3 separate regions of the Homo sapiens genome follow, and regions 1 and 3 are each linked to region 2. Evidence: promoter capture Hi-C in 16 types of primary human blood cells and fetal thymus (Javierre and others, 2016). All regions are on one chromosome and are shown on one strand. Each heading gives the region's core, a stretch centred on a gene start or on the middle of the fragment in contact. The rest is flanking DNA. Distances are from core to core; before and after follow the strand shown.

Evidence for each region. Contacts are between HindIII fragments. The CHiCAGO score rates a contact against its expected background, and 5 or more counts as called.
Region 1: a contact is called between the fragment with the promoter of OLFM2 here and the fragment with the promoter of S1PR5 in region 2, in 3 of 17 cell types (total B cells, fetal thymus and activated CD4 T cells). The highest score is 6.7, in total B cells.
Region 3: a contact is called between the fragment with the promoter of SPC24 here and the fragment with the promoter of S1PR5 in region 2, in 1 of 17 cell types (neutrophils). The highest score is 7.0, in neutrophils.

Annotation. Positions count from the first base shown.
Region 1 is chr19:9,935,091-9,938,632 of GRCh38, reverse strand. OLFM2 (olfactomedin 2) reads left to right here and starts at 2,118. Exons shown (of 6, transcript NM_058164.4): 1 at 2,118-2,329. The coding sequence starts at 2,267. RefSeq lists enhancers at 1,099-1,601, 2,268-2,862. The HindIII fragment of the contact is 5,720 bases long and covers 1-3,542 here.
Region 2 is chr19:10,515,770-10,519,153 of GRCh38, reverse strand. It overlaps S1PR5 (sphingosine-1-phosphate receptor 5), which reads left to right and starts at 1,707. Exons shown (of 2, transcript NM_030760.5): 1 at 1,707-1,756. RefSeq lists enhancers at 1-362, 3,230-3,384. The HindIII fragment of the contact is 9,669 bases long and covers 1-2,889 here.
Region 3 is chr19:11,154,495-11,158,101 of GRCh38, reverse strand. It overlaps SPC24 (SPC24 component of NDC80 kinetochore complex), which reads left to right and starts at 2,320. Exons shown (of 5, transcript NM_182513.4): 1 at 2,320-2,485. The coding sequence starts at 2,326. RefSeq lists a silencer at 2,204-2,363. The HindIII fragment of the contact is 19,008 bases long and covers 1-3,607 here.

The DNA.
Region 1 (3,542 bases), core at 869-3,368, 580 kb after region 2:
TCACAGGCAGCCGTTTCACATGACTAGAGGCTATGGGCTGATAAGATCCTGAAAACCAGGGTGTGGACCAAGCTGGCTAAGACCTACTGGACCCAACATGGCGTTACATTCTACCTAGGTTTCACCTAGGATCTCATTATGTACTCATTAAAATACTAAAATTACCCACCCACCAGCGCCCTTGACAATTCCAGGGACACCCAAATTTGGTGTAAAAGTGGGTGGCACCACAGTCCACCTTTTTCCAGTTTTCATGAATATTCCATCCCTTGGTTAAAGAGATACACAGTGGCCTGTTGTGGTGGCTCACGCCTGTAATCTCAGCACTTTGGGAGGCCAAGGCGGGTGGATCACGAGGTCAGGAGTTTGAGACCAGGCTGGCCAATATGGTGAAACCCTGTCTCTACTAAAAACACAAAAAATTAGCCGGCTGTGATGGCGCACACCTGTAATCCCAGCTACTCAGGAGGCTGAGGCAGGAGAATTGCTTGAACCTGGGAGGCAGAGGTTGCAGTGAGCCGAGATCACACCACTGCACTCCAGCCTGGGTGACAGAGCGAGACTTTGTCTCAAAAAAAAAAAAAAAAAAAAAAAAAAAGAGACACATAAAGGTAGCAGTCCCAAACCACCTTGCCCATCTCTCTCTCTTAAGTACGCCCACTCCCTTTTCTCAAGTGTGGACTTTTCCCTTAACAAAAAAATCTCCGAACTTTTCATGATTTTCTGATTCCTCCTTGAATTCATTCTTGCGATGGTGTTAAGAGCCTGGACACCAGCTGGGGTCGAGGCCCCACCAGCGTCTGGGGAGACCCCTCCTAGCCCAACAGTATCAGGGTCACAAAAATGCCAGGCTTCCTGGCCTCGCATATTTTATGCCCGATTTCTTTCCAATCTGACTTATTTGCCCGCCCCCCTCCTCCACCTCTGCCTACATATATCCGAATCCCTAGAGGGGCTGTGGGGAGGAAAGACGACTAGGGACACTTTTTTTTTTTTTTTTTTTTTGAGACAAGGTTTGCTCCTGTTGCCCAGGCTGGAGTGCAATGGCACGATCTCTGCTCACTGCAACCTCTGCCTCCCGGGTTCAAGCGATTCTCCTGTCTCAGCCTCCCGAGTAGCTGGGATTCCAGGCATGCACCACCACGCCCGGCTAATTTTTGTATGTTTTAGTAGAGGTGGGGTTTTGCCATGTTGGCCAGGCTGGTCTTGAACTCCTGACCTCAGATGATCCACCCTCCTCAGCCTCCCAAATTGCTGGAATTACAGGCGTGAGCCACCGCGCCCGGCCTAGGGAGACTTTTGGAGGAGTGAGAGGCAGAGAAAGGCTGGAAAGCCTCCCGAAAGTGAGGCTAGACAAGGACGCCCTTCATATGCAAATGGCTTCGCGTGGAGGCGGTGTTAATATTTTGATTCTCTCGGGGGATGTGGTCTTTCATCTTGGGCTATTGAAACAGGGAGCGAAGAGAAACTCTTCCAGGTGTGGCGGAGGCGGGGAGGCTTCCAGCGGGAGGACTGGTGGGGAAATGGGGCGCCCGGGGAGAGTGAAAACGAGACGCCCCTTTTTGAGGCCAAGCCCACCCACGTGGCCATTTCCATTGGCCTCTTGCCTGATTCTCGGTCTCCTGTCCCCCCAACCTCAATTTTTTCCTCTTATTCCCCGTCTCCATCTATGCCTCACCCCTCTTGTCCTGGCATTGACCCCTCCTCCAACTTCCAATTTCAGATTCTGCCTCAGTTTCCCTGTTGACTCTTGAGTTTTTAGGGAGGGGGCGTTCATCATTTCCCCTCTCTGCTACCAGGCCTTCCTCCTATTCCTCTCCCCCAACCATTCGTCCCCGTCCCACCTGCAACGTGGGAAATGCCCCCGGAGGGTGAAATTTACAAACACGTGACGGGCACCCCTCCCCCACCTCCGCGACCCGCTCCCGGAATGGCCTGGGGGTTGGGGGGCGCTGCCAAGTCCTGTCCTCAGGTCCCCTCGCCGGCGCTGGCTCCCCCACTTCCCCGCCCCCACCCCCCCACCCGACCCTGCTCGAGCTGCTCCCGAAGAGGAGCTGGGGGCGGGGCGGGGGGCGGAGCCCGCAACAAAGACTCGGAGCGAGCGAGGGGGCGGGGGTGGGGCGGAATCCCGGCCGCCGGCGAGGCGGGGGAGGCGGCGGCGCAGGGTCGCCCCGGCCGGGCGGGCGGGGTCGCGCCTGGTGGCGGTCCCCGCGCCGAGGCGCCGCTAGGGCGGGCGGGGGTCGGGACGCCGGGCTAGGGGCGCGTCATGTGGCCGCTCACGGTCCCGCCGCCGCTGCTGCTGCTGCTGTGCTCAGGCCTGGCCGGACAGGTAGGGGCCCGGCGGGCAGGTGCGGGCGCGGGTGGCTCCGGGAGAGGAGGGGGGCGCGGAGGGTTCCCGGAGAAACGGGGTTGGGAGGCTCCACAAGCCCCCCCAGCTGCAGGGCGGCGAGGGGCGGGGGTCGCAGCGGGGGAGGGGCCGGGACGTGCACTCTCTGGCTTGGGAGAGGACGAGGGGGGCTTCAAATCCAGCCTCAAGCTGGGCTGGTTTGGGGGGTGGCGTCTTTGGGGTTCTCAACCCCTCCATGGCCCCGAGCCCCCACCCCGCCATCTCGCTGGAGCTGAATGGGGTTGGGAGGGAAACTTCAGGGGGCATTGGAGGGGGGCGGTTGCTTACCCTTGACTTCCTCTTCGGGGCCGAGATGCCCAGTTTCTGAAGCCCTCCACTCCTCGCCTGCAGCCCCCAGTGTGGGGCAGGGGACGGGACTCACGTGAGAGTGACTGACGGGGACGCGTGTGAAATGCTGTGGGGGTGCAGGGTAAACGTGTGTGTCTTTGTGTCGTGGTTGGGTGTGACCGGGGGGAGTTTGTGTGTGTGGCGGTTGGGGGGCTTGTCCAACTAGTGCCCGAGTTGGGGTGTGATCAGTACGTGAGACAGAGTCTGTGTGTGACCGTGTCCTCATTACTGGCTCCAGATGACTGGGTGTTGTACAATACGTGTGTGGCCAGGTGTGTGGCCGTGTGAGAGCCTTGGAGTGAGCGTGTGCTATTCTGTACCTTTGGGTAAATCACTCTAAAAGGGTGTGTGTGTGTGCAAGCGCTGTGTGTGCAAACGTGTCCATCCATGCACGTGTGTGTGTGTATCTTGGTGCCTTGCTCACAACCGCACACGCCATTCATACCCTTACAGAAGCGGGTCTCCCTCCCCATGGCACCTTTCTCTTGGGCAGGCTCAGGGAGGCTTGCAAAATGTGGGGCGTCCACGCTCTCTTTTGCTATTGGAAAGCCCCTCTCCTCCTCCATCTTGGGAGTGAGAGCACCCCCAAGTTCTCAGATCTGTAGGAGTTCACAGGGAAGCTGGGATCAAAAATAATAAAATAGTCATTATGATAACAGTGATCATTCATTACGTGCTAATTTGAGAGGTGCTGTTTCAATCACACAGCACAGACTAAGGCATTTAACCCCCTCTGCCTCCTCCCTACTAGAGCATGGTATTGTTACCTCATTTTATGGATGGGGAAACTGAGGCGCAGAAAAGTTAA
Region 2 (3,384 bases), core at 458-2,957:
CTGGGAGGTGTGAAGCAGCCACCTCCCCACCCTGGGGCGCGGCTTCCCCTTTACAGAAGGAGGTCATTTATTGAGCACCTACTGGGTGCCAGCCACAGCCATGCTGGGAGATCTTCAGGGGTCATCCCAGTGGGCACCATTGGAGTTGGCTTGGTCCACAGGACTGGGGAACCTGGCACTGAAGGGTTAACACCGTCCCACCCTGCGGGTCCCATTGGCTGTGTCTTTGAGCAGAGCAGGCAGGAAAGGTTCTGCCCACCGAGGGAACAGCGGGGGCAGGAGGGCTGGGATCCCCAAGGGGCTACATGGGGGCCTGACCCGGCCTGAGTGCCCCCTGAGTTTCCTCCCACGAGGGTATCCCGGATCCACACTTATTCTCAGCCTCTGGCTCATCTCTCCTGGGGCGCCCTCACCCCACCCGCGGCCAGCAGGGCCTGAAGCATCAGGGGCAAAGGGCACGGTCCTGGAGAAGGTCGCAGCAGCGGGACCCAGCCTCCCTTCCTGAATCTGAGGGTGGAAGAGCTGGGACCGTCTGGAAGTTCCTGGGAAGTCGGGGTGGGGGCGTTTCGGGGCCAGCGGGACTGGTCGTTGGAGGAGCAGTGGCCTGGGAGAGGCGTGGGAGAGCATCACAGACAGCAACAAAGAGACACGCAGAGGCAAAGAGACACGCAGAGACAAAGAGACACGCAGGCGAGAGACTCTGAGATCCTCCTGAGAGAGATACAGAGGAAGTGAGGGAGACACTCATTCATTATCTGGGCATGGTTGCAAGCGACTGGAGTCCCAGCAGCTACGTTCAGCCGGCTGAGATGGGAGGATGGCTTGAGCCGCGGAGGTCGAGACTGCAGTGACTTATGATGTTGCCACTGCACTCCACTCTGGGCCACAGAGCAAGATCTTGTCTCAAAAAAAAAAAAAAAAAAGAAATTCTTACATTGCTGGGGTTTACTGTCTGCTAAGGACACAGCCCAGAAACACCATTAATGAGTAAATCACTTTGTCGTCAGCGATAAGGGTGGGAGAGAATCGGTCGGGGGAACACGGAATCCAGGGGGTGGGACAGGAGAGACCCTCCTTATCTGAGGAGCGGCAAGTTCCCATCACAATCCTGCCCGGGCCCGCCCCACCCCCACTCGCCCTGAGCCGGGGGCGGGAGCGGGAAATTGGGAGGGGCCTGTGCCCGGGAGCAGCGGGAACCTATCTGCTGGTGGGAGAGGACTCAGGCTAAGGTGGCCCCCACTGAAGACTCCTGCTAAGCAACCCACTGAAGACCCCTCCGAATCATCGACGGGGCGTCCTTGGGGTGCAGCCCAGGAAGCTCAGTTCACAGGTGGGTGGGCAATGGGAGGGCGCAGTGCCCGGACACCCAGGACAGAGGAGACCCCTCCGCTGGGGAGAAGAGGCTCAGGCTGCGACCGCCCTGCTGCAGAACCCTCCCTTTCCCGCCTCTCCGAGTCCTCCCACCGCGATGGAGCGTCCCTGGGAGGACAGCCCAGGCCCGGAGGGGGCAGCTGAGGGCTCGCCTGTGCCAGTCGCCGCCGGGGCGCGCTCCGGTGCCGCGGCGAGTGGCACAGGCTGGCAGCCATGGGCTGAGTGCCCGGGACCCAAGGGGAGGGGGCAACTGCTGGCGACCGCCGGCCCTTTGCGTCGCTGGCCCGCCCCCTCGCCTGCCAGCTCCAGCCCCGCCCCCGGAGCGGCGTCCGCTCACTCGGTTCAAGGCAGCGCGACTGCGGGTGGCGCACGACCAGGGCGCAGAGTGAGTGGACTGCACTGGACCTTTGGGGGCGCTGGGCTGGGCCTGACCCGGAGGGGGTCGCCCTGGCGGCCACTTTCCCGGTCTAAAAAGGCGCACCACTCCTTGCAGGGAGTTCTCCGAACTTTTCCTGGAGGCCTCTGGGGAGGGGGAAGCTGGGGGCTCCCCAGCTGGGTGCAGGACCTGGGATACGGGGTGAAGGTGGCTGGAATCCCCTGGCCACCCCCTCCTGGCCGGGCCACTGCAAGTTTCCATACTTCAGTCCTGCTGCCGGGCAAGCTGGGCGGATGGGGTTGGCCTCCCCCTCAGAGCATGTGTAACCCTGTCTCCCTGTATTTGGGCTCCCCACCTCCAGCATGGGTGAGCCAGCGACTTCCTGTCTATGTTTGCCTGCCTTGATTCTCTGTGTGTGACTGAAGCTCTCTGGGATGTCCGCATCCCTGCCTTGTGCAAAAGAGATCCATTCCCCTCCCCAGGCCTTGGCTTTCTCATCTGGACTTGCATGGGGACTATTTGTGCATGGATGTTTGTGTGGGAGCATGGAAACCTTTGCGCCTGCTTCGATACGAAGCATTTCTTTTGAGCTTCAGTTTTCTCATCTGTAAATTAGGACTAAAGGAAGTGGGGATTAATAAGGTCACAGAGGCAGGTGAGGAGTGTTATTACAGTTTAATGACATGTGTGCCCCTCTGTAAGAGTCTGTTTGCCTCTTGTGGATTCTCTCTCCTGTCCTCAGGCTCTGCCTTAGTAAAATGAGTGAATAGGATCAACTTTTTTTTTTTTTTTTTTTTTTGAGACGGAGTTTCTCTCTTGTCACCCAGGCTGGAGAGCAGGGGTGCGATCATGGCTCACTGCAGCCTCGGCCTCCCAGGCTCAAGTGATCCTCCCGCCTCAGTCTCTTGAGTAGCTGGGACTATAGGGGCATAACACCACACCTGGCTAATTTTTAAATTTTTTTGTAGAGATGAAGTCTTAGTATGTTGCCCAAGCTGGTGTCGAACTCCTGGGCTCAAGTGATACTCCCACCTCGGCCTCCCAAAGTGCTGGGATTACAGGCGAAAGCCACTGTGCCTGGCCAAGGAGCAACTTTCTCATGGGGTTTTGGGTGGATGAGGGGGTTTTGGCAGGAAAAAGCTTTGTATGCAGTGAGACAAGAGTGTGGAGTGTGGTGCACTGGGCCCCAGGCTAGTGTGAGTGGAGGTTGTGAAATTGTGGCCTGTGCCACTGGGTGGGAGACCCTGTATTCGTGTGACTGAATTTTGGTCGCTGTGTTTTTCTGCCTGCGTCACTCTGTTCCTGTATGATGTATTTTTTAGTTTCCCTGATAGTGTGTGACTGTGTGTTTTGCCCTTGTAGTGTGTCGCTGTATTTGTGTGTCTCTTTCTGTGTGTGTTGCGTTTGTGTGCGTTCTGTGTGTTTACTGTTACGTCTCTGGAACTCCCTGCTTGTGTGTTTGTGTGTGTGTGTTTGAGACAAAGTCTTGCTCTGTTGTCCTGGCTGGAGTACAGTGGCACAATCAATGCTCACTGACTGCAGCCTTGACCCCGCGGGCTCAAGTGATCCTCTCACCTCAGCTGGGACTCCACTGAGTAGCTTGGACTATAGGCATACACCAACACGTCCCGGCTAAT
Region 3 (3,607 bases), core at 1,071-3,570, 640 kb before region 2:
CCCGCAGCAGCTGCACCATTTTACATTCTCAGCAAGGGTACACAGCATTCCAATTTCTCTACATCTTGGTCAACACTTGTTATTTTCCAGGTTGCTTGGCTGGTTGGTTGGTTTTGGACAGTAGCCATCCTAATGGCTGGGAAGCGGTTCTCGCTTTGCTTTTTTGGAAGGGAGGTGGGCGGGTGGCATTTTTCCACAGGAGCCTTTAGATCTATCAGGCTCGAGTTGCACAATCTTGCCTGGCTTATCTCTGGGACACCTCCTGGCAGCTAATAAGAAAGGGCTATCTTTAGCCACTATGGCTTAGAAAGGTTAGGAACCTGCCAAGGTCACAGGTAAGCTGCAGCATCAGAAAGTGAACCTGAAGTCTTTTCCCCTCTTGATTTCACTCTGCCTAATTGTTATTCACTGCCTTTAGGCACAAAGAAGTGAGGTCTATGCCAACATTACACAGCTGGTTCAAGAAGCCATGCTCTCAGGCACCAAAGGGTGACACACACCTGTAGTCCCGGCTACTTGGAAGGTTGAAATGAAAGGATCACCTGAGCCACTGCACTTCAGCCTGGGGGACAGAACAAGACCCCATCTCAAAAAAAAAAAAAAAAAAGAAGGAAGAAAAGAAGGCCGGGCACAGTGGCTTACGCCTGTAATCCCAGCACTTTGGGAGGCCGAGGCAGGTGGATCACCTGAGGTCGGGAGTTCAAGACCAGCCTGACCAACATGGAGAAACCCCGTCTCTACTAAAAATACAAAATTAGCTGGGCATGGTGACGCATGCCTGTAATCCCAGCTACTCGGGAGGCTGAGGCAGGAGAATCACTTGAACCTGGGAGGTGGTGGTTGCAGTGAGCTGAGATCGCGCCATTGCACTCCAGCCTGGGCAACAACAGCGAAACTCTGTCTCAAGAAAAAAAAAAAAGAAAAGAAAAGAAAAGAAAAAAAAATCATAGGAAAGCAATGAGATGTTCTTTAGGTGGTAGCACACATAAAAATGTTGCCACGCCAGGCGCGGTGGCTCACGCCTATAATCCCAGCACTTTGGGAGCCTGAGGCAGGCAGATCACGAGGTCAGGAGTTCAAGACCAACCTGGCCAACATAATGAAACCCCGTTTCTACTAAAAATACAAAAAATCAGCTGGGTGCGGTGGCGGGCACCTGTAATCCCAGCTACTCGGGAGGCTGATGCAGGAGAATGCCTTGAACCCAGGAAGCAGGCTGGAATGCCTTGCACTCCAGCCTGGGCAACAGAGTGAGACTCTGTCTTAAAAAAAAAGAGAGAGAAAGAAAAAAAGATGCCATCTTAACATCTTGTTTCTTGCAGAAATACCAGTGTCTAGCATGGAACCAGCACCTTAGAGTCAGCACTGATCTTTTCTTTGTTTTGTTTTGTTTTGAGACAGGCTAGTCTCAAACTCCAGGGCTCAAGCGATCCTCCTGTCTTAGCCTTCCAAAGAGCTCAGACTTACAGGCGTGAGCCACTGCACCCAGCTACATGCTAGGATTCTATGTATGTTTCATTAAACAACTATATAGCACCTACTGAATAGGAGACACTATCACGCCAGGCTGGGCTCGGTGGCTCACGCCTGTAATCCCAGCACTTTGGGAGGCGGAGGCAGGAGGATTGCTGGAGGCCAGGAGGTCGAAGTTGCAATGAGCTATGATTGTGGCACTGCACTTCAGCCTGGGTGACAGAGCAATACCTTGTCTCTAAAAAAAAAGTAATAAGAAGAATTCTCACGCCAACGCTGACACAGGCACTAGTATGACCCTCATTTTACTAAGGAGGAAAGTACCGCACAGAGAGGTGAAGTCTGTCCAGGGTAACACAGCTAGTAAGTGGCAACGCTGGGATTCGAACCCAGTAAATCTGGCTGCAGACGCCATTTTGCTATGCAGCCTCTCATAGAATCTACTTATTCTCTATGCTTATTGTGTATCCCACGCACACACTGTAGGATGTAAGTTCCAGGAGAAGCTGCTCGCTGCTTTGCCGTTAGAACCCCACCCTGCACAGAGCAAGCGCTCGACCTATGGAGAAATAAACAGCCGCTTTCTCTCCCGCGCAGGCGCATCGGGAAGGATAACGGAGCCTCCCCCTTCCTGCGCCGATTGGTCATCACCGATGACTGACGGAGGAGTGGTCGCAGGCGCACCAGGCCAGACCAAAGGCGGCTTAGCCCAGTCTAAGATCCTGTTCCCCATGCCTATTGGCCATTGCTTATGACTGACGTATCAAAAAATCCAATGGAAAGCAACCTCTTCTGGAAGAGGGCGGGCCCCGCGGACAGTCAAATTTGCGCGGGTTGGAGCCTGGCGTAGTCATGGCCGCCTTCCGCGACATAGAGGAGGTGAGCCAGGGGCTGCTCAGCCTGCTGGGCGCCAACCGCGCGGAGGCGCAGCAGCGACGGCTGCTGGGGCGCCACGAGCAGGTGGTGGAGCGGCTGCTGGAAACGCAAGACGGTGCCGAGAAGCAGCTGCGAGGTGAGGGTCGGAGCGTGGTCGCGGGCCCACGGGGGAAGGGGCCCGGGTGCTGGGAGGGGGCGACCAGGCCCACCTCAAAACCCCTTCTCTCCTGGACTCTCCCATCTCCTGCCCTATGCCCCCTGGGACGGCCCCCTCTGAGCCTTAGTTTCACCATCTGAGAAATCGGCTTTATGACAGCAACCATCCCCCACCCCCCAGGGGTTTAGTGGTAAATATAGGAGTCTGGAGGGGTTGGCCCCTTCTGAGCTCTCCGTGAGCAGGAGCTGGGGGTCTCAGGGTTTGAACTGGGGCTCAGGAGTCAAAGCTCCGGGTTTGAATCCTAGCACCCATCCCCATGTCCGCTGTGAGACTTGAGGTGAGTTTCTTAAATTCTCTGTGCCTCAGCTTCCTTCCTTGTCAAATGGTTGTGACAATAGCCCATCCCTTCTTCCTGAAGGCATTCAGATGTTTTATGGAGCATCTGCTGCTGCCAGGCCCTGGGCTCACCGCAACCTCCACCTCCCGGGTTCAAGCTATTCTCCTGCCTCAGCCTCCTGAGTAGCTGGGATTACAGGCGCTTGCCACCGCACTCGGCTAATTTTTGTATTTTTGGTAGAGACGGGGGGTCACCACGTTGGCCAGGCTGGTCTCAAACTCCTGACCTCAGGTAATCTGCCTGCCTCAGCCTCCCAAAGTACTGGGACTGCAGACGTGAGCCACTGTGTCCGGCCCATCTTCACTATCTGTAACTGCACAGTTCAGTGGCCTTAAGCACATTCACACTGCTGTGCAACCATCAGCACCATCATCCATCTCCAGAACTTTCTCATCTTTCCAAACTGAAGCTCTGTCCCCATGAAACACTCACTCCCCATCCCCTTCTCAGACCCTGGCACCCACCAGGGTTCTACTTTCTGTCTCAAATTTGACTCCTCTAGGAACCTTACGAGGAATTGTACAATATCTACCCTTCCTAGTGGAATCATACAATATCTACCCTTTTGTGTCTGGCTTATTTCATGGAGCATAATGTCCTCCAGGTTCATCCATGTCATAGCCTGTATCAGAATTTCCTTTCATTTTGTGTACTTACTGTGAGACAGAGCCTCGCTCCATTACCCTGGCTTGAATGCAGTGGTG